4 separate regions of the Homo sapiens genome follow, and regions 2, 3 and 4 are each linked to region 1. Evidence: promoter capture Hi-C in 16 types of primary human blood cells and fetal thymus (Javierre and others, 2016). All regions are on one chromosome and are shown on one strand. Each heading gives the region's core, a stretch centred on a gene start or on the middle of the fragment in contact. The rest is flanking DNA. Distances are from core to core; before and after follow the strand shown.

What was found. Contacts are between HindIII fragments. The CHiCAGO score rates a contact against its expected background, and 5 or more counts as called.
Region 2: a contact is called between the fragment with the promoter of RPS6KC1 here and the fragment with the promoter of BATF3 in region 1, in 1 of 17 cell types (total B cells). The highest score is 5.6, in total B cells.
Region 3: a contact is called between a fragment that was not itself captured here and the fragment with the promoter of BATF3 in region 1, in 15 of 17 cell types (megakaryocytes, erythroblasts, total B cells and 12 more). The highest score is 13.1, in megakaryocytes.
Region 4: a contact is called between a fragment that was not itself captured here and the fragment with the promoter of BATF3 in region 1, in 5 of 17 cell types (erythroblasts, megakaryocytes, neutrophils and 2 more). The highest score is 7.7, in erythroblasts.

What each region holds. Positions count from the first base shown.
Region 1 is chr1:212,697,255-212,703,073 of GRCh38, forward strand. It overlaps BATF3 (basic leucine zipper ATF-like transcription factor 3), which reads right to left and starts at 2,586. Exons shown (of 3, transcript NM_018664.3): 1 at 2,419-2,586. The coding sequence starts at 2,508. RefSeq lists silencers at 1,884-2,333, 2,524-2,603. The HindIII fragment of the contact is 2,939 bases long and covers 893-3,831 here.
Region 2 is chr1:213,048,278-213,054,096 of GRCh38, forward strand. It overlaps RPS6KC1 (ribosomal protein S6 kinase C1), which reads left to right and starts at 2,964. Exons shown (of 15, transcript NM_012424.6): 1 at 2,964-3,232. The coding sequence starts at 3,128. RefSeq lists a silencer at 3,093-3,192. The HindIII fragment of the contact is 5,380 bases long and covers 2,952-5,819 here.
Region 3 is chr1:212,996,783-213,002,601 of GRCh38, forward strand. ANGEL2 (angel homolog 2) reads right to left here. Exons shown (of 9, transcript NM_144567.5): 6 at 4,004-4,130; 7 at 3,544-3,601; 8 at 373-536. Among named protein-coding and RNA genes, the nearest start is that of ANGEL2, 16 kb to the right of the region's middle. The HindIII fragment of the contact is 4,961 bases long and covers 649-5,609 here.
Region 4 is chr1:212,980,544-212,986,362 of GRCh38, forward strand. All of the region lies in intron 7 of VASH2 (vasohibin 2), which reads left to right. Among named protein-coding and RNA genes, the nearest start is that of ANGEL2, 32 kb to the right of the region's middle. RefSeq lists enhancers at 969-1,188, 1,299-1,448. The HindIII fragment of the contact is 2,490 bases long and covers 1,635-4,124 here.

The DNA of each region.
Region 1 (5,819 bases), core at 1,336-3,835:
GTGTGTGGTGTGACCGCCGTTTAAAAGATGAGGAATAAGAAACTCAGAGAGGTTAAGGACCTTGCTCCAGGTATTACAGCCACTAAGTGGGTGAGTGGGAAGTGGAACTCAGGTCTGTTGGTCTCCAAATCAACGTTCATAAACCTCTAGCCCACAGGGCGTGTGCCTGGAAGAGCTGTGGTGTCAATGTCGTCCATCTGAGACTGGAAAGCTGGGTGGGGGTGGGGGGCGGTGGAGAGATCTGCTATCTGGAACTTGCTGTTTGCCAGTCCTTATACCACCACACATGAAAGGTACTTTTGATACTGCATGCAAATCATGATTACACTTACAACTAATTGCAGCCACATAACTCTACCAACACACCAAATGATCTTAAACCCCACTGACAGTGTACTCATTTGAACAATGCTTGGCTGACATTTTGTTTCAGAAGTCAGCAAATTTTTTATGTGTCTTGAAAGCTGTTAGCTATATGTAAGATTTAACCAAATTCAGTCAAATCCCTCAATAGTGATCATGAAACAGGCAGGCGGAAAAATGCACTGACCATGGTAAAAACACTTCAATCAGCTATAGAAAACATGAAAAAGGAGAGCAGTATTTGCTTTCTAGAACCCCATGAGAAGACACCACCAAGCGGGAAAAATACCACACTTACAGAGTTTAAGAGCCAAGAGGTACAAACAAGGAAAACTACTCAGTTATTAATATTCACGGAATGCAAATATTAATAACACAAAAAAGGATATTTTCAGTTATCATTTGATCTCATCTTGTATTCCACATAAGACACACATCTTCCCAAGTTACTGCAGGTAAGAAGTTTCAGATATGCAAGAATATAAAGGCATAAAAAGGAGAGGAATAAATAACATACATAGCAAATAGAAGCTTAAGGGAACAAAGTATGATAATACAGTCTTCTAGAGAGGCAAAGAAGTCTTGATAAACAAAACCAGAACATTACAGGGGAACATGTGGTTAGAAGACAGCTCTTTAGCTTTAGAATCACACAGATCCTAGTTTTGTCTCTTAGTGTCAACATGGTCTTGTGTAAATGGTTTAAATTCTCTAAATTTTCAGTTTTCTCATTTATTGTAAGCATAATTCATTCATTCTTTCAATATGTATTAACTGAGCACCTACCATGTGCCAGACACTGTTCTAGACACTGGGGATACAAGCCCTAAACAAAGGGTCAGTGAACTCTGCAGACTTGGTGCTAACAGCCTAATGCTTAGGATTGGGATGCGATGAAATGAGATTTTGTCCTAAAGCTCCCAGCATACAGTATGCCCTCAAGAAGTTACCTGCCTTTGTTGAAGTTGCTACTTTAAAAAAAAATGTATTCTGCATAGTGCTTCTCATGCCTCTTTGCTCTCTGTAATCAAAAAGTCACTAGCACAAGAAAGCAGCCTGCATACTGCCCTCGGGGAGCTGACTCTAAACTGGACTCATCACCATGATCACACCTGCCAACCCAGCAGAAACATTTAATCAAGACAGAAAGAGGTGAGCGAAAGTTAGAGATAGTATTATGTTATTAACCATATCTGATTCAGTCTCAAAAATCCTGAGAGGTTGATGTTACTATATTCATTTTACAGATGGGGAAATGGACGGTCCGAGAGGTTAAACAAATTGCTCAAGGCTGCTCAGCCTGTGTGTGGCAAAGCCCAGGCCCAAACTCAGATCTCTGTGACACTCCAGCGACACCTGATGACATGGGCCGGGCGCTGAATTGGGAAGGTGGGGAGTAAGGATGAAAAGACCCAGTCTTCGTCGTAAGGCAGGTGGCCAAGACCCAGGCAAAGTTTCCAGACGGCCGTCCCTGTGGCCAACCTGGTCTCCTTCCTGACTGCGCCGCTGTAAACGTTGCTAGGGGACAGCGAACTGGGAAGGGGCAAAGGGTTTCCACCAGCTGGGGGCGGAGTCGGCCCTTTGTGGGTTCCCTCCGCCCAGGCTGACTAGTCCGGCGTTCTCCATTCCCGCGGCAGCACCCCCCCCACCCGGGGGAATCCTGGAGGGGCTACAGGCGCGGGTGGTGGGGTGGCAGTCGCTGGCTGCGCCAGGATGGGGCGGCCCTCAGGGCAGTGCGGAGCCCACGTGCCGGGGAGCACCGGCCATGCCCGGCCCAGCCAGGCGTCGGCGCCCTCGGGCTTCTTCCCCCAGAGGGCGCAGGAGCTGGCTCAGGAGCCATTCCAGGAGCCGCGGACACTGTGCGCACGACAGGGTCCCTGGATCGCCCCCATTCCCCAACATCCCTACGCCCCTACCTCTGCTTGTCTCCGGCCGCACCCGCCACCTCTGCACCTCCGCAGTCACCACCACGGAACTCCAGCACCCACCTCCTCGCCCCCCGCGGCGCGCCGGTCCCCGCACCCCACGGCCCTCCCTGAGCCTCTCGCCCTCTACCTGCTGCTGCGGCTGCGGCTGCGGCTGGTTCCCGGGCGCCGCGACGCTCCTCTGCAGGACGCTGCCGGCGGCCGGGAGCCCTTGCGACATGCCGGGCGCTCCTCTGGCCCGGCCCGCCCCGCCCCGCCCGCGCGCCCTGCCCGTGGGGCTGCCTACGGGCGCTGTCCCGCCGCCGGCATCCTCGTGCCGCACCCACGGCCTCGCGCCGGCCCCGCCCCCTCAGGCTTCCCGCTCTCCCCGCTACTCCACGCGTCGGCCCAGTGTCCCCGCGCGCCAGTCCCGGCAGCCGTCCTTCCCGTCCCACGTCTGCCCCGCCCTCCTTCTCCCACCCCCGCCTCGTTTCCTCCTCTGCCCGCCCTCTCTCCGCACCTCGGGGTCCCAAATCCCACCCCTGCCGCGGCTTTCCGCCGGCGCCCCGCGCTTCGTGGAAGTCACGTGGTGGCTCTGAAACCCCGGAGGGAACGCGAAGCCCACCCACGCGAGGCGACGCCCGGGGGGGTGGGGACCAGGGGGGCGCCATGCAGCCTTTGGGGTCCTTCGGCGGCTGCCGGGGAACTCAGGTTGAGAAACACAGTGGGTGTTTTGGGGTCGGTGTTTTTTCCCGGTCCCATCGCGGCATCTTCCTGCGCCTCAGCCACGCCCTGCGTCCGCCCCCCGGCGCGGGGGTCACAGTCCCGGGGGACTTTCTCCGCGGCGATCAGTCATCCGGGCGCCACTCTCGCTCCTCCAGCGGCCCCGAAGCCGCGGCTCTGGGGTGAAGACGCCGGCTTCACCGAGTCCCACCGCGCACCCCGAGCCACGGGCGCCCCAGGGACTCTGCAGGGAGTGCCTGCCCTTCCCGTCTCGGGTCCGCCGGGCTGTGGGAGGGAACGAGGCGGGGCGGCCCCGAGGGTGAATTCCCGGAGCGGAGGGTGGGCATGGGGAGGATGTCCCGGACAAAAACGGTGACGGGCTTCCCTGAGAGCGAATCTGCCACGTGGGACGTCACTAGTGACAGGTTTGGGGATCTGGACCCGCCATGCCACGGTTAAACGGCCCAGATCATTTTTCTTTTTCAAGATTTATCTGCTCGTGCCAAGCTGGGGACCGGGTTGAGGTAGGGCAAGTCCCTGTCCACCTGCCTGCCAGTCAAAAGATGCGAAGCCAAGACAATTACCCGTGGTCCTAGCGAAGGAAACACTAGCGGCCACAGGCTGTGGTCTGCATGCTGTGAGCACCGGGAAAGATAACCGCGATTCGGGATGGGCGGGTGGGAACCAGACCAGAAGGGCAGAAGTGCCTACCAAGTGTGGTCGCTTGGGTCTTCAGGTTTGTGGGCAGCAGTGGGCATGGGGACAGTCATTTCCGATTCCTTTTTAAGTCTTAAATGAGTGCACGTGCCCCCCGCCAGGATTTAAGACCCACTCTTGCAAAAGCTTTGAGAGAGCTTGAGTGAACTTGGCTGCCTGGAGGCCAGCGGGAAAGCGAGCGGAGATTCTTGTCTGTGTGATCAGAAGCTTCGGCCAACTGAGAGGCGGGGAGGAAGACGGAGGGTGGACGCAGCCCTTTAGAGTTGCAGCGCCACACTCCACAGCAGCAAGGCTGCGCAGCAGAGCCAGCGCTACGCTGGGTTATCTGCCCGGATTAATCTTTTCCTCTCCGTTATTTCATCACTCAGCTTAACTGGTGGTTGCCCCAGGACTATTTTGCATCCCACAAGGTACCCACACAAGGTGCCTAGCATAGCACGCTACATACACTCAACAGGTGCTCAGTATATGTATTGCACTAGGTCAGCTGAAAGCTCTCATTCCTGAAGCACTAAAAGGGCTCTAACGAGCTAGGAAAACATCTGGGTCAAGGGGTTATCATTTTCAGAAGTGATTTCATTCCCCAGTGTTTTTTATGCACAGAAAAGGCAAGGTAGAAACACCTCGGGAACATTCCCGTGCACTCCTACACTTTATTCTGGTCATGCCCACTTTTCTCACTGAACCACATCACATTTTAAGTCCTTTGGGGCTGCTGCTTCCCTGTCTCTCCCCAGGGAGCCTGAAACCATGTCCCAGCACACACGAACTCTTTATATAGGCATAGTCTACTGTCTTGTGTTACGCAAGGGTTTCTTCAAATACATTTAGTCTTGGTTAACTAGGTAGCATTTAGGGCAGAGATCAATTTGATGTAAAGATCATACATCAAAATGAATGGATTAAATAGCTAGATACAGAAATGAAAATCAGAGAGCTAAAGCAGAATTAAATTCTTATTTAAGTCATGGAAGCATAGGCAACATAGTGAGACCCCCAACTCTACCAAAAATTAAAAGAAATCAACTAGCTGAGTGTGGTGGTGCACACCTGTAGTCCCAGCTACTCAGGACGCTGAGGCAGGAGGATCACTTAAGCTCAGGAGTTTGAGGCTGCAATGAGCTATGATTGCACCACTGCACTCCAGCCTCCAGGGCAACAGAGCAAGACCTTATCTCAAATAAATAAAATAAAGTTGTGGAGATAAGATAAGGAAAGGATCTTATAAGAATACATGTAATAGGAGAAATTGACTTGATAAGATCTGAACTATATAAAAGGGCTAAATTGTTTTAGATGACAGTATAACCAGGAATGTAAAACAAACAGATTGGATAAATACAGTGCATATGAGAAAGGGTTAATATACAGCCCACGAAAAAGAAGAAGAAGAATATTGAGACAACCCGCAAAGGTAAATTGCAGAAGGGATATGAAATGGCATTTCCCAGCAGAAGAAATAATCAAGGAAAATAGGTATAGGAAAATATATATTAAAATAAGAACCCTTTTTAAGTTAGCAAAATAAAAAGTAATATCAAATGCTGGGGAGAGTATGGTGAAATTGGTACTCACATGTTTCACTGGCTTCATTGTAAATTGGCACAAACCTGCTGGAAAGCAGTTTTACTGTCACTTTCAAGAACCATAAAAGAGTCATCACTTTTGACTCAATTTTCCTACTGCTAGAAAATCATCCTAGAAACATCATTGAAAATACTAGGGAGAAAAATACTATATGCACTAGAAGTTCATAATAACATTTTAAGAGTGAAAAATGTAAGCAACATAAATGTCCGATTATAGTTGAATGGCTAAACAGAATATGTTATTGCCACAGGATAGAATGTTATGCATCTTTAAAATTACAAGCATGCAGGCTGGATGCAGTGGCTCTCACCTGTAGTCCCAGCTACTCTAGAGGCTGAAGTGGGAGGATCATTTGAGCCTAGGAGTGCAAGGCTGCAGTGAGCCATGATTGCACCACTGAGTTCCAGTCTGAGCAACAGAGTGATACCCTGTCTCTTAAAAAAAAAATTACAAACATGCAGACAAATTTGCCACTTGGAATGTTTATTTGATCTGAAGTAGAGTGAGAAAAATCAGGATACA
Region 2 (5,819 bases), core at 1,714-4,213, 350 kb after region 1:
GGCGTGTTCTATAAATGTCTATCAGGTAGAGTTGGTTGATAGAGCTTTTCAGGTTTTCTGTATCCTTATTCATTTATTTGTTTACATGTTTTGTCAATTACCGAGAGAGGAGCGTTGAAATCTTTTTTGTTTTTTTTGAGACAGATTCTTGCTCTATTGCCCACGCTAGAGTGCAGTTGCATGATCTTGGCTCACTGCAACCTCCACCTCCCTGGTTCAAGTGATTCTTGTGCTTCAGCCTCCCAAGTGACTGGGGTTACAGGAATGTGCCACCACGCCGGCTAATTTTTGTATTTTTAGTAGAGATGAGGTTTTGCCATGTTGGCCAGGCTGGTCTTGAACTCCTGGCCTCAAGTGATCTACCCACTTCAGCCTTCTAAAGTGCTAGGATTACAGGCATGTGCCACCATGCCAGGCCTGAGTGTTGAAATTTTAACTATAATTGTGGATTTGTCTATTTCTTCTTTTAGTTCTAATCGTTTTTGCTTTTTACATTTTTAGTTTTGTTATTAGGTATATACACATTTAGAATTGCTCTGTCTTCTTTATGAATTGAATTCTTTAAGTTTTGTCCTTCTTTATTCCTGATCATATTTCTTTGTCTTAAGTATTTCTAGTAGTGTTTTCGTGGCACATGTTTTTCCACTTTTTAAATTTTTAATCAATAATATCTGGTAAATCAAAGAAACTCAGAGAACATGGAGAGGAAGTTGCTAAGGATGATATCAAATAGCTAACTAATGTAATTAAATGGAGAGTAAAACCAGTCATGGAGATAGAAATAGGTATATGAGGGGAAAAAATGTTGAGATTTTGATTTGTTCTGTTTCCAGTGTTAGATATATAATAAAGATGTAGGTAAAGTGAGTCAAGTCCTGGAAGAGAGATATGCTGGGAGATAGACATTTGCAAGTCAATGGGAATAAAGAACAAAGGATCAAAGGCAAAATCTTGAGAAACAAGAATACTAAAAGTTCTTGGAAGGAATAGAAACCAGCAAAGGAGACTGAAAAAAGAGCAAGTCATCTGAGTATAAAAGAGAAAAGAGAAATAATGCTGACTCATATGCTAAGAATATACAAAAGTTTTAAAAAGGTAGAAATGGTCAGAGACTTTCAAAATCCAGAAATATTGGGCAAATTGAGGTCACTGGAAACTGTTTTCAGAGCAGTTTCAGAGTAGCAATATAGAGGTGAAACCAGATTGAATTGGACATGGGAATAAATGGGTGATGATGCAATGTTGATGTAGATTACTTTAAAATCAACTTAAACAACTTTGACGGTGAGTGGAAGGAGAAAGAAAGGAAGAAAAGAAGGCAAAATGAATAATGCCCTTTACTCCCTTCTCTCCTGGCTAACTCCCATCTCTCTTCCAAGACTCAGTCTTCTATCAGAAAGCCTTAGGCGATCTTCCATCCTGAATTGATGTGCTCTTTAGTACTCCATATATACATTCACCATGGTACTTATCACAGTATATTTTGTGTCTTTATTTTTCCTACTAGATGGTACTTGAGAACAGGGACTATCTACCTTTTTTTTTTTTTTTTTTTTTTTGAGAGAAGTCTTGCTCTTGTCCCCCAGGCTGAAGTGCAATGGTGCGATCTTGGCTCACCGAAACCTCCACCTCCCGGGTTCAAACGACTCTTTTGCCTCAGCCTCCCAAGTAGCTGGGATTGCAGGCGCCTGCCACCACGCCTGGCTAATTTTTTGTATTTTTAGTAGAGACGGGGTTTCACCATGTTGGCCAGGCTGGTCTCGAACTCCTGACCTGAGGTAATCCGCCCGCCTCGGCCTCCCAAAGTGTTGGGATTACAGGCGTGAGCCACCGCGCCCGGTCGGAGAACAGGGACTATCTTTGTAACTCCAATGCCAAATTGGCATCATGTCTGGCACATAGTAGGTGGTGAATTCAGGTTTAATGAATGACTAATAGACTTAGATATATGTAGGTTGAAAAGAAGGAGCCAGTGGTGAGAAAGAGATTAAACATACAGAAAGGAGATTTGGAATGTCATTGAAACAGTGTCTTAAGGTTTGCCAAAGAGGATGGGATTCAGATCACATGTGGAGTCATTAGCTGTAAAAATGAGCAAGTGATATGTGTACGTTTCAGACTGGCATGGAAATGTGAGAAGACAAAGGAATTGGTACTAAGGGCCATAGCTGCTTCTTCCTCTTCTTTTTTCCCTGTAAAGAAGAGTGGTGGTGCGGAGAGTAGGGAGGCAAAAGGAAGAGGAACAGAGTCTTTAGGATAATGGCAAAGACTTGGCATGAATATTTTGTGGAATGAAAAGGAACCTTGATCACAAAAAGATAAAGGAACTGCCAAGCGTTGATAACAACCTCAGCTGAAATTGGAAACTGTAGTGAGTGACTCGGAGAGGTCGAGTGACATATTTCTTTCTTCTAGCCAGAGGCGGACTCCAGATTTTCGAACCTGTGGGGATTTTTAAAAGATTGATATTGGCTTGGGAGCTTTTTTGGGTTGGGGGCTTGCTGTGCAGATGTGTTACAGAAAGGCGCTCAATGGAAGGAAATTCGTCTTAGAAAGAAGTAAGGGATATGTCTCAGAGAATGAGATGTTGCTGTGGGTATTTAAAATGATAGGCTGTGAATAGGTAAGGAAAGAAGGTGCTAGGCTATGGTATCTCTCCATCCCTTCAACACTCCACTTAAGTTTGTACCACGGCGGGGCGGAGGCAGGGAGGACCACGCTCTCCCGGTGTGGCGTGGCTATACCAACTCTCATAAAATCTCATAAAAGGTGACGGAGCTAGCGTACAAGAGGTCGTCTTTAGTGGAGAGGCCTGAGGTCTCCGCAGTGACGGGGGTGGCAGCGCGACCCCTTAGTCTTCAACTACAGGCCAGTCCCAGGTGCCCCAAAGGGGCTAGAATCTAAGGAGGAGTCTCCCCTCCCCCTAGAAGCGGGAGATAGCCTGGCCCGGAAGCTTCTCTGCTGACCCGGAAGCAGAGCTGTGCAGCTGAGGCGCCGCCGTGGAGCCGCCTTGGAGCCACCGCCCCCTCGCCGCTTCGCCGCTGCGTTGGGGAACCTGGACCGCGGCGGCGCCGGGTTTCCCTCATGATCCCGGGCGGGTGGCGGCGGCGGCAGAGGCGGCGGGAGGATGACCTCTTACCGGGAGCGGAGTGCCGACCTGGCCCGTTTCTACACTGTCACCGAGCCCCAGCGACACCCGAGGGGCTACACAGTATATAAGGTCACCGCCCGGGTGAGTGCCGGTGTCGGGCTGGGGTAGAGCTTGGATTGGGACCTGAGGATCTGGGGTGGGGACCCTGATGTGAGGGTACCTGACTCTGGCTCAGAGCCGAGGGTGGGACTGGGTGCTGCTCCTACTGGCGGGACTTGGGTGTCGGAGGTTGGGATTTTTAGAGTAGTGGCTGAGTGTGATATGCCCAGGGCTTCACTGTAGTAGGTCGTGGTAGAGTCCTCTTTCTGGGGGTGGGGCAGTCAGTGGTTGATGGTTTTAAATTGATGACTCAGTTCCCATCCCGTTTGGACTTTCTCTTCTGAGTTCGCAATTTGCAGAAGTGGTTTTGCTTGCTCCAGGAAGATAATGCAGATTAAAAAGTGTTAATTTATGTATTGTTTGGCTTATGTAATATAAGTTGTTTTTTCTCTTGACCTTTATCAGGTTTGCTGTGAGAAAGACAGATTCTTGGGACAGATGTCAGTGTTAGGCCACCAACCTAGGAACTGTGGATCCGGGCTTTGTCAAACCTTTGAGTTTTTCATGTTTTTCAGTAGGAGACGTGAAAAAAATCTGCTGAGGGTGGCTTGTGTGAGCTACCATGAGGGCACATTTTAAAGTTGGGAGGCTCCTTTACATCAACTAACTGGTCCAATTTTTAGTACCCACTTTATGTTTCATTGCTTTTGCCTTGAGTTTTAAAGAGAGTCTGCATCTTCTAGGAAAGTAAGAATAAATCAAAATTAAATAAGTATATATGTATGTGACGTATGTGTGCATGAATATATGTGTATAGTAGGCATTTTATGCACATCACCCAATTTAATTCTCATTTTAATGAGGAAGAAATAGATTAAAGCAAGTTTAGTAACTTGCCCAACTTTACATTGCAAGGCAGTAGCAGATCTGTCTGGGATCTGAAACCAGTTTTGCCTAACTCCAAGTTATATAAAATGTTAATAATTAACTTTATCAATTTTTAAAGAAGAGAGGTACAGATTAAGTAACAGTAGTTCAATATACATTTGGAGGATGTAAAGCAGGCCTTCAGAATAATTTTTTTTTTTTTGAGACGGAGTTTCGCTCTTGTTGCCCAGGCTGGAGTGCAATGGCATGATCTCTGCTCACCGCAACCTCTGCCTCCTGAGTTCAAGCGATTCTCCTACCTCAGCCTCCCGAGTAGCTGGGATTACAGGCATGTGCTACCATGCCCTGATAATTTTTTGTATTTTTAGTAGAGATGGGGTTTCTGCATGTTGCTCAGGCTCATTTCGAAGTCCTGACCTCAGTTGATCCGCCTGCCTCGGCCTCCCAAAGTGCTGGGATTACAGGCATGAGCCACCACACCCAGCCTGAGAAGAATCTTAAAGGTTAAATAGATCAGTTTGGGGCATGGGAGTGGCACGTGATGTATGGAAATGGTGCACAATTCAGATAAATGTGAGAAGGAGGGATAGATGAACATGTCTGTATAAAGATAATGAGAAGACCTGACCTGCTATTGCCGATTGCTGTTCGGAGAATAGAGGGATGTTTGTTGCTCCCTGCTTGCACTTAAGGTTGTTACATGGGTGGAATGTTAGTTTCAGGTTGTGTAAGAAATTTTGTGAGAGTGAGGGGCCCTTATTATACCACTCTTGAAACCTTTCTAGTCATTGGGCCCTTTGAAAATCTAGGCTTAGTTTCCTAACACATAGTGTATGGAATCAGAACAGTTTTCAACATACGTAATGTTTCTCTCACAGCATCCTACTTATCCGTTAATTTAACAGGAAAGTTATATTGTATTAATTTAGTTGCATGTCTGTGTCTCTTAGTGGATTTAGAGCAGTTCTCTATCATTGGCATTTGTTTCTGCTTATATCAAATAATAGATAAAAGAACATGCATGTGCATGGCACACAGTGCCTGAAAAACATTGTTGAATGTTTTCCTCTTCATTGTACGGAGCACACCCAATAAATGTTTAGATCCAGGCACTAAATACTGAGGGACATAAGGCTGAATAAAGCAGGGATCTTTATTCCTTTCAAGGATACTCATAGTAGAAGAGAGTTTAGTATACTTAAGTGTGATATAACACAGGAAGTTCCAGCAGACACTACAGAAAAGGGCTGTGGGAAGACAGATTGCTTCTGGATCAAGAGATTGGGGAATATGTACCAATCAAGATAGTTGAAAGAGGGGAAGAATCCAGAAAAGGAGAGGGTATGAAAAGGTAGACAGTTGAAGGGGTAGAGTCCATAAAGACCTGGAGGTATGAATGTGTGTGGAACTGGAATTGGAAGCACTGAGTATAATTATTTGTATTGTTACTTTACAAAAGGAAAGGTTAACCAAATTCAGAATTTTTTTTTTTTTTTTCCAAGGCGTAGTCTCGCTCTCTTGCCCAGGCTGGAGTGCAGTGGCGCTATCTCAGCTTACAGTAACCTCGCCTCCTGGGTTCAAGTGATTCTCCTGTCTCAGCCACTCAAGTAGCTGGGATTACAGGCGCCCTCCACCATACCCGGCTAATTTGTCTATTTTTTGTAGAGACGAGGTTTCGCCTTGTTGTCCAGTCTGGTCTCGAACTCCTGACCTCAGGTGATCCACCCACCTCAGCCTCCCA
Region 3 (5,819 bases), core at 1,879-4,378, 300 kb after region 1:
TTAAGCACAAAACTATGATGACCATTAACAACATACTCAGTTCCTGTCACAGGAAAAACAGTAAATTTATGGCAAGCAAAAAGAAAGGGCAATATGAAAGACCTATAACTCAGAGGCTGACTGGAACTGGAGGGTAGGACTGCTAATGTAATTCTTGGGTAATAATTTGCTTGGATGTGTTTTATTGCCTCCCTCATATGCAAGTAATCAACTGATTTATTCAAATATATTACCAATCTGTCTATTTCGAAATATTTTTACCTTCTAGATCTAGAACTTCAACTGGATGTTTAGAGAGCTTTCTTAACTTTAACCTTGAGGTTTTAGCTACTGTGCTCTCTAGGAGAATTTAAGATTACATGCATTCCTTACCTGGGTGCCCAGCAACATCTTCCTTTTCTGCAGAGTAGAAAATATAATCCACAGTTATGGCACTTCGGGAATGACAGGTGGTCACTTCTGGAATTCCAGTGTCAGGAAAGTAATGTGAATAAACAGATGACAAACTGAAATGGTGCTGTAAATTTGAAGACAATCTAAATAGAAAAGAAGAAGTGTTTAGAATCCGAGTTTTTGTAACTTCAAGAATTCCTCCTATCTGAATTTCTTTTTCACTTAATTTCTAGACTAAGACCAAACATTAGGACAAGCTTTATTTAAAAAGACCATATCATAATTTAGTATTAATTTACTTATGCAGTGATATCTAAAACCCATCAATAAAGCCATTATAAATGTGGTTTTTAAAAAAAGCTCAATAATTAACATACTAATGTGTTTTTTCATTATTTATAACGTGTGAATGCCTCCACTTACTAAAGAACATGTATTCTAACAAGTTTTATTGTGTTTTTAAGAAAGAGAATCAAGGGGGTCTTCAGGAACACTATTTGGAATCCTCTAGACTTTTGATGACAGAGAGGCCATATTCTTCTCTAATTTTTCTTGCTATCACATATAATTTTGTACTGCATCTTAAAACAGCTTCTCTAATGGTTTATTATATTTGCCCCATGCACAAATATATGTGATGTTATGAGTAAAAGGTTTAAAGACTATTTTCTAGTGATACTTTATGAATCTTAAGGATCTTTTATGCCTTGAAGGAAAATAAAATTAAAAAAGAAACTTATCCAACAAACATTTACCAAACATCTTCTAAGTTCTAGGCAATATGTCAGGTGCTGAGAATACATAGATGAAGATGTTTCCCTTGCTTTTAAAGTGTTCATATGTCAGGAACAAAGGTAAATCCTTAAAAATGCCCTCTAAGTTTTATTAGCAACTTTTTATGTCTAAGGATTTATAATATTAAACATAAAATAGGGCCGGACGCGGTGGCTCACACCTGTAATCCCAGCACTTTGGGAAGCCAAGGCGGGAAGATTGCTTGAGCTCAGGAGCTCGAGACCAGCCTGGGCAACACAGTGAGACCTCATCTCTACAAAAAAAAAAAAAAAATCTAGAAAAGTAGCTACGCGTGGAGGCACATGCCTGTGGTCTCAGCTACTTGGCAGACTAAGGTAGGAGAAAGGCTTGAGCCTGGGAGGTGGAGGCTGCAGTGAGCCAAGATCATGCCACTGCACTCTAGCCTGGATGACAGTGAGATCAACTCTCAAATAAAAATAATAAATAAAAATAGGTCTTCTGCAAACTCTTATCTATCAATTTTTCAGTTTACAGATATAAGCTATGCATATAAACACTCTGTATTTACATAAAGATACAAAAAAGTATCTTTTTTTTTTTTTTTTTTTGAGACAGAGTCTTGCTCTGTCGCCCAGGCTGGAGTGCAGTGGCATGATCTCAGCTCACTGCAACCTCCACCTCCCAGGTTCACACCATTCTCCTGCCTCAGCCTCCCGAGTAGCTGGGACTACAGGCGCCCACCACCACACCTAGCTAATTTTTTTTTTTGTATCTTTAGTAGAGACGCGGTTTCACCGTGTTAGCCAGGATGGTCTCAATCTCCTGACCTCATGATCCGCCCGCCTCAGCCTCCTAAAGTGCTGGGATTACAGGCGTGAGCCACCGCGCCCGGCCTCTTTTTTTCTTTTAATTTTTAGACACCAAGGGCAAGTAAGGTATCTATTTTTTAAAATTATTATCATTATTGAGACGGAGGCTTGCTTTGTCACCCAGGCTGGAATGCGGTGGTGCGATCTCGGCTCACTGCAACCTCTGCCCCCCAGGGTTCAAGCAATACTCTGCCTCAGCCTACCTGGGATTACACGTGCATGCCACCATGCCCGGCTAATTTTTTGTATTTTTAGTAAAGATGGGGTTTCACCATCTTGGCCAGACTGCTCTTGAACTCCTGACCTCGTGATCCACCCACCTCAGCCTCCCAAAGTGCCGAGATTACAGGCACGAGCCACCACGCCCGGCCAGAATGTTTTAATTTTTTTTTTAATAGAGGCAGGGTCTCACTGTGTTGCCCAGGCTGGTTTCAAACTCCTGGGCTCAAGCAATCCTCCCGCCCTGGCCTCCCAAAGTGCTGAGATTATAGGCGTGAGCCAACACGCCCAGCCAATATCTTTTTTATATCCTATATTGTTACAAAAAGATTTAAGAGTTACTCAAAACGAAGTACTTGTTAGATTAGCCTCCTTATTAATCTTATTCAAAGAAGTTTTTACTATATTGAAAGGTTTAATCATGAATTTTAAAATATTCATTTAAAAAATTTTTTTAAAAATTGCTTCCATTCTTACTAGTTCTTATTTATGTAGTAATATTTTCTCAAAACAAGGTATACAAAATAAAGATTGAGAAGCAGATAAAATAAATGAGAATTGGTCCCTAAATTTAAATGTTAAAACAAAAAACTATAAAACAGCCACAATATAATTAACAATCAAGATATTTCAAGAATCTCCCTGAGACAAGATTTAAGTCTCTGTCCTGTTTTATTAACATGTATCAATTTCTCAACCATAGCCCCAAATATTCCTATTTCTTTAATGAAGAATTCCAGCATCTTCACCCCTCTGACAATCTTCTCCTACAGTTCAAGAGATAAATTAAAATGATCATCTTTTCAACTGGCATATTCATTTTTGGATCAATTCTCTTATAGATGGTTTTGAGATTTAGTAAATCAAAGACAACTAAAGATCCTTTTGAGATCTGAAAGATATTTTTATGTGATCTTGACCTTTGTTTAAGTATGTGAATTTCAAAGAGTATTTGAGCTGGTCCAGGTCCACAGACAAGCTGTTTCCCTTCCTAACACTACCTAGGTGCCTAGGTATGTTTCAGACATTGTGCTTTATATGCTTTGTCTCATCTAATCCTCACAACAATCCAAACTATAGACAAAGAAACTGAACCTCAGAGATGTTAAGTTTCTTGCTCAAAATCATTCGGCTAAAACACAGCAGAGTCAGGACTGGAACTCAGGCCTATCTGACTTAAGGGCCAGCACCCTTCACCAGCACGGAATACTATCACCTTCATTTTTTTATCCAAGTGATTTTTGAGAAATGAGTTTTTTATTCAACTAAAGTTAGCAAATGTCTCCTTTTGCTTTCCAGAACTCACTTTTCAGCTGTCACTAGGACCTCTGTTTGCTTCAGCTGTGTTTGTGTCAGATCACTGTCTGTAAGAATAGAGGAAAATATATTAATGTTATTGTTCTAGTTTGCCTTAATATCGTCATCTTACTCTAGAAACAATATTTAAGACTTATCTAGGTTAGAAAGATGCCTAGTTACATGTTTCATTCTGGAATCTATATATTTCGATGGCCTCCAGAATTAGGAAAAATAGAAAAATGCAAACAATTCCAAAGCAACATGCAAGTAAATCATGCACAGATAATTCTGGAAGTTCAACTTTAAAAAGGTAAATTTAGAGGTCTTAAGAAAAAAAATGAATAACTACATATTTATATATATGAATATTCATCCCTGAGATTTTTTCTTTTTAAAAACTTAGTTTTATGTCTTCAAAGGGAACATGATTACCCAGCAGACTGCCAAAATGTATTACAAACACTTACCTGTCTTTTCTACTTTTGGTACCTGCTGTACCTCATACACACAGTTCTGTGAGATACCTAGGTTTGGGGGCCAAATTGGAATAGATAAAATTCTTTGTCCCCGTGAAGACTGTTCCTGGCCAGATACCTAAACAAAATTTCAACAGGTATCTTAAGTGAAAAGATTTTAAATAGCTTATGAGTTGAAAAATTTATGTCTTAAATAAAAGGTAATCCAAAAGTGGTAAATTATTACCCTTTATTCATTGTATTAAGTGATTCTTTGGACTTATAAAATCTTCTTTTCTTTAAATACAATTCAGAAAGCACTTATCATTTACATAAAAATGACAATCTTTTTCCCATACATGCTTTTCTTTAATTTGGACATACAAATCATCTATCGCTTTGAACTAACACTATTCATCATTTTTTACTACCTGCAATATAGTTCCTATTGTATCAAATATAGGCATGCTCACAGGTACTGCGGGTTTGGTTTCAGGCCACCACAATAAAGTGAGTATCTCAATAAAGCAAGTCACATAATTTTTTCAGTTTCCCAGTGCATGTAAGTTGCGTTTATACTATACTGTAGTTTACTAAGTGTGCAATAGCATTATGCCTAAGAAAATACATACCTTAATTTAAAAATACTTCATTGTTAAAATATCCTAACAATCATCTCAGCCTTCAGTGAGTCATCATCTTTTTACAGGTGGAGGATCTTGCCTAGATATTAATGACTGCTGGCTGATCAGGGTGATGGTTGCTTAAAGTGGGGGTTGGCTGTGGCAATTTCTTAAAATAAGACAACAATGAAATTTGCTGCAGCCATTGATGCTTCCTTTCATAAAAGATTTTTCTGTAGCATCTGATGCTATTTGACAGCACTTTATCCACGGAACTTTTTTTCAAAATTGGAAACCCTTCCAATGTTTTATCAATTAAATTTATGTAACATTTAAAATCCTTTGTTGTAATTTCAGCAATGTTCACAGCATCTTCACCAGGAATAGAATGCATCTCAAGAAAATACTCTGCTCATCTATAAGAAGCAACTCCTCATCTATTTAAGTTTTATCATGAGATTGAAACAATTCAGTTAATTCTTCAGGCTCCACTTCTAGTTCTCTTGCTATTTCCACCACATCTACAGTTACTTCCTCCCCTGAAGTCTTGAACCCCTCAAAGTCATCCATGAGGGCTGGAATCAACTTCTACCAAACTCTTTTTAATGGTGATATTTTGACCTCCTCCCATGAATCACGAATGTTCTGAATAGCATTTAGGATGCTGAATCCTTTGCAGGTTTGCAATTTACTTTCCCCAGATCCATCAGAGAAATCACTTCTATGGCAGCTATAGCCTATGAAATGTATTTCTTAAATAAGGAGACCTGTAGGTACAAAATTACTCCTTGATTCCATAGGCTGCAGAATGGATGCCGTGTTAGCAGGGATGAAAAAACATTCATTTCCTTGTACATCTTCATCAGAGCTCTTGGGTGACCAGGTGCCTTGTGAACGAACAGTAATCTTTGGAAAGGAATCTGTTTTTCTGAATAGTGGTCTCAGCAGTGTGCTTAAAATATTCTATGCCATAAACAGATGCACTGTCATCCCCAAGCTTTGTTTTTCCACTGACATAGCACAGGTAGAGTGGATTTAGCATAATTTTTAAGTGCCCTAGGATTTTCAGAATGGTCAATGAATGCTGACTTTAACTTAAAGTAACAAGCTATATTAGCTCCTAACAAAAGAGTCAGCCTGTCCTTTGAAACCAGGCACTGACTTCTTCTTTCTAGTTATGAAGTCCTAGATGGCATCTTCTTGCA
Region 4 (5,819 bases), core at 1,630-4,129, 280 kb after region 1:
GTAAGCCCTGAAAGCCCATCTCCTTTCACTGCAGGGCCTTGAGCTGGACAATGGAATTCCTGCTGCATTCTGTCAGGAAGGATTACGTATGTCCAGACATCTGGTTGAGTAAGGGCAGAAGTTGTTTAATGAAGTCATTGAAAATAAATTTGATTCCATGGTCTAATCACATTGACTGGTGCCCAAGAAGTAATTCTCCTTAGATCCCAAATGAGAAATATCCCCAGTGAGAAAAGGAGATTTCCTTAGGGTGGAAAGTAGAGGGAAGCAAACAAACAAAAAAGAACACTAGGAAGGCTACGAAGGGAAAAGCTAAACCGCCAAGATGGTGAAGGGGCAGTTTCTACTCCAGTGACTGCCTGGTCAGTTCCCCCAGGGAAATTCATATGGCCCAGAGTCTCCAGGGATGCTTGGAGAAACCAAGATGGAATGATGGGCCTCATCAGAAAAGACCACCTCAGGCAGAGTGAGCCAGGAGCCTCTGTGAGCTCCCCAGGGTCACATAGGGTCAGACAGGGGCAGACAGGGTGAGGTTTCCTAGAGCTGAGGGGTTCTTGTCCCGGAAAGGAGAAGTGACATCAGAGCCTGGAAACTGTGCCCTGGAATCTCCAACAGTTGGCCTATGGCCAGAGTCTCCTGCCTGGGGAGGGCTCAAAGGGATGGGCACCGGCTGAAAAATCTCTTCTGGGCCGAATCCGTCTTGGCTGAGGCCTCTGTTTACATAGCAACATCAGCTGTCTGCCCTGGCAGCTGCCAGCACCGGTGCTTTCCATCAGGGGAAGCAAGGAATGTGAGGGAGGAGCGGACTGGCCTGGAATGAAGGTGACAGGTGTGAATGAAGCTTCCCTTTCCCTGTGTCCGTCCAGCTGAGGCCATGCTCTGCCTCTGCGGCCTACCCAGACCGGCCGTGAATCCTAAATCGGGGCCTGGTCTGACCTGATTCTGGCCAGACTCCACAAGAAGGGTGGCCCTGGGGTCTTTGCTTAAACTTGTAAATGCTGGGCCAAGAGCACCCCTGGTTTAATCTCTTCCACATTCTTAACATCCGGGATTAAGAGTCTAACGTTTACAGTGGCACTTTTCCCACACTTCCCTTCCTGGACTCCCGAGCCTGCAGGCTGTACCGCCAGTCTGGCCTTTGTGTTTCTGTGTGAGGGTGAGCACCTGCCGGCACACGTACCCAGACATGGCCCTCAGTCAGAGGTGCGGAAGAGAGACTGGGTGGTTGAGGGAACCCTGTGAACTTCCTCTCCTCGTCCTGTTTCTTTTCTTAAACCTCATCTCTCCCAGATACACCCCTATGCATGTTCAGCCTTGGGATGTGGTCATGTCTCCACTCCATCACTTTCTGGTTCTGAGGCTTCTTGTGGCTGCACAGATGGCACCATCTGGTCAGGCCGAGCTCCTCCTCTGCACTGAGGCTGCCTCAGAGTGTGAAGGACTTGGTGTGCAGCTGTCAAAGTTGAGATAGCAGTGGCAGAGAGTAGTAGGATTTTTGACAGAATAACTTCTCTGTGGAACCACCACCCTGTTCTCCCTAGCCTACCTCCTGCTTTGAGCACCCTCCGTCCAGCTGGCTCCGGGAATGCAGACCTGTCATTGGGGTTAAGTGTAGCCTTGGGGCCAGGCCATCAAGCTTTCACCCTAGTTCACTCTGAGTCCATTTACGTCACAACAGGTGAGGCTGGGACTGTCTGTGCATGTGGATATCCTTTCTCCTGCAAAGTGAGTCAAAGTAAAGTTTTCTACTCTTTTTCCCCTAAAACAAAATGTTGCCGGAGAACCTTGAAAAAAGAAAATTCTTTCATTTCTTTGCCTTGTTTGGAGGAGGATGGCAGGGAGGTGGGGTTGGAGAAATATATTAGTCTAAAATAATAACCCTGGATCCGATGAGAGGTTCTGGGCAAGTGCAGACCCGGCTGAATCATCATCCTAGTGCTCGTGTTTCTTAAAAATAAACCCCCTTGCAATATTCTAATTAGAGCTGGGGGAGCACTTGGAAGAGTCCTCTCTATACACAATAGCTCACCCAGCTCTGGCCCTGAGATGAGCTGGCAAGGACTGAATGACATTTCTGGCTGGGCCCCACAGGCAGGTGGCATGCTGTGATAACCTACTTCTGCCCTATGCCAGCCAAGGAGATTGCAGCCACGGTTGCTGTAAAAGAAAAGGATTTCATCTTCTGGGCAGTTCACCAGGAATCTCAGTTTAGCTCATTTTCTGTCAGTATTAGCCCTTTTCTTCTCCTGGGTTCTGGGTACTTAGTGGAAGGTGGCAGGGGTGGGGATACAGAAGAAGAAGATGACCTAGTCCCTTTCCTTTGGAAGCACTCAAGCTGTTGATGCATTCAGCTTAATGAGTAGGCAGGTTCCCCACATGGCTTTCAGGGGTAAAGCAAACCCACTCCAATACGGAAAATAAATGTTCTTCCTGCTTGTTAATTCTGAAAATGTTGTCATGGTAACTTGAATTCCTGGCTTAGGACTTTGTCTCTAAAATAAAATATCCCATGATAAAGGTAACAGATGATTCACTATCATCCATTTACATGTTAGTGAGAATTTGATTGATAAGTACGTATTCCACAGTGGGATTCATAGATGAATTTCCCTGGTCCCTCCTTTCAAATTGTTCACAGTCTCTGAGGCAGGTGTAATGATTATGAATTGGCAGGATTCTGGAACAGATGTTGTCTTAGTCCATTTTGTGTCGCTGTAACAGAATACCTGAGACTGAGTCCTTTATAATGAACAGGAAATGTATTGGCCCATGGTTCTGGATGCTGAGAAACCCAAGATCAAGTGGCTGACATCTGGTGAGAGCCTTCTTGTTGCACTGTCCCATGACAGAGGGCAAAGAGAGGGAGAGAGGAAAGAAAGAGAGCAAGCACAAGTGTGCAAAGGGGCCAAAGTCATCCTTTTATAAGAACCCACTTTTGAGAAAATACTAATCTATTCATGAGGGTGATGCCCCCGGATCCACACACCTCCCACTAAGCCCTGCCTCCCAACCCCACTGCACCGAGGATCGAGTTTCCAAACCCATGAACTTTTGGGGACACATTTAAGCCATAGCAAATGTACCAAAGAAAATGCCAGAGCATACAGAGCAAGTAGTGGATTGTGATGGTAGGGAGTCAGAAAATACTTCCTGAGGTTAGTGACATTTGGGATTGCCTTCTAAGGATGTGGAGATGTTGGGGAGAGCATTCTAGACAGGAGACAGCATAAGCCAAGGTGCAGAGGCAGGAGTGGCCATGGTGTCCTTCTCAGATGCTTGGAAAGATGCTTTGAGGTGGCAGAGGAAGGGTGAAGTTTGCATTGTGGTTCAGGGTGTGGGCTCTAGATTCTGGGGACCAACTCTGGCTCCAACACTTGCTAACTGCATGACTTTGCTTTGAGCAAATTCCCTACCTTTCAGTACCTCCATTATCTCCTCTATAAAATGGACAGTACCAGTATCAACCCCGTGGGTTATGGTGAGGATTAATTAATCCACGGAAACCTCTTAGAATGATGCCTGGCACATCGTTAAGTGTCTAATAAATAAAAGCTATTTATAATGGTGATTTCCTGGTACCTGGAAGGCATGGGAAAACTGGTGCAAGTGCGAGGGAAAAGACTAAGAAAAGGAGTTCAAAGGTTCCCAAATTAAATTTCATCTATTTTCAAATGTGCCAATAGCAGAACACAGGTAATGGTAAAGAGTGAAGTTTAAGAAACACACAAACTACAAAAAATTTATGGGCTGAGGGGCTCCAAAGTGAGGAATTAAGGTGAGTGGCCAAAAAGTGGCTTCTCGAGGAGGTGGCAGGCCTGTGGCTAGTTAGCTGCAGTGATCCCAGTGAGCCTCCATGACAGGGATGAGCGGGTGGGCTTTGTTTTCTCCCTGAGCCTACCCTGTAGGCTGTTCTGGCCACTGACTTTCTAGGAGAGACTGTCGGGCACAGGACTGAGGGAGAGATAACAGGTCAGTGCAGATCTAGTCCAACAACTTGAAAATACTGTGAAGCTAGTGTCTTATTTTCTTATATGAAGGGCAGCATATTTAGAGTTTCAGAAGGAGGAGAGGTGTGACTTGGTGTTGAGGAAGATGCCAGGCCAGGAAGGCAACATATGTAAGAAAGCTTCAGAAACTCGGATGAGCTAACTGGTAGGTCCTACAAGGACCATGGAACAAGACAGTCTCTTGTTAAGCACATGCACTGCTTAATTTTCAGAGACAACAGGAGATCTAAAGAGCTACCATGGCTTAGGTCCTACATAGTTTGCAGGGTTACAGGGAAGAAGACTGACTCCTAGAAGTGAGTATGACTCCTGACTTCATTTGGACTATGGCCATTCCTCCCGAGTTAGAACTTGCTAGGAGCATGTTCTCCATACTCCACACAGTAACCTTCCTCAGGTTGACTTAGCACCCACTGTTAGTGGATCAGGTTTGGCTAAGGTTAGGTGTAAGCTGTAGCTTAAACATAATTCACTTTTTTTTTCTTTTTTGAGATAGGGTCTTGCTTTGTTGCCCAGGCTGGAATGCAGTTGTGCAATCTCAGCTCACCGCAACCTCCACCTCCTAGGTTCAAGCGATCCTCCCATCTCAGCCTTCCAAGTAGCTGGGACTACAGGCGCATGTCACCATGTCTGGCTAATTTTTTTTGCTTTTTTTTTTTTTTTTTTTTTTTGTAGAGATGGGGTTTCACCGTGGTGCCCAGGCTGGTCTGAAACTCCTGGGTTCAAGTGATCCTCTCTTCTCAGCCTCCCAAAGTGCTGGGACTATAAGCATGACCCAGCGCACCCAGCCATGATTCACTTTTATGTAAAAGCAGCTCAACAGAGGTGGAAATGGGCTTCCTGCTGCGCTGCCATCTTTAGAGACCATCTTTTTTTTTTTTTTTTCTGAGACAGAATCTCACTCTGTTGCCCAGGCTGGAGTGCAGTGGCACGATCTTGGCTCACTGCAACCTCCGCTTCCCAGGTTCCAGTGATTCTGCCTCAGCCTCCCAAGTAGCTGGGACTACAGGAATGCGCCATCATACCCGGCTGTTTTTTGTGTTTTTAGTAGAGACAGGGTTTCACCATGTTGGTCAGGCTGGTCTCAAACTCCTGATCTCAAATGATCCACCCACCTCAGCCTCCCAAAGTGCTTGGATTACAGGCCTAAGCCACTGTGCCCAGCCCTAGAGACCATCTTGAGGTCCCCACTCCAGCCGTCGCTTCCATGTTCCCATCAGCAGGAAGAACAAAGGAAAGAAAAAGATGAAGGGCACATACCAGTTGTCTTTTGAAGACGTGTCCTACTAACTGCCACACCACACTTCCATGTAAATCTCACTGGCTACAACTTAGTCTGAGGCCATGCGTGGGTACAGGGAGGCTGGAAGATGTACTTTGTATTCAAGGCAGCTATGTACCTAACTAAAAATCAGGGATGGGAGACGGGTGTTTTATACTAAAGAAGGGAAGAATGGATGTTGAGGGGCAACTAATAGACGCTGCTGCACACAGATCGTTAGATAAATCAGTTATGAAAATCTAATACAAATGTAGTTTATATTTGGATAAAAAATATATGCTTACCTAATTACAAAACCAGGAAAGGTAGTATGGAAATAATATTTTACTAGCTCTAGGAAATGACCTGCATTTAATCTTTTTCTAAAGCAAGGAATGCATAGGTACTGCAGGTTTATCCTTTTGCCTTATCCTGCAGGCAAATTGAATTTTTGATTGCTGAATTTTCTACAAGTGGGGCACACTGTGGAGCAGTGATTTACTTTTCTAACCACATTTGCATCAGGCTGATGCTAATGTATGGGGAGTCTA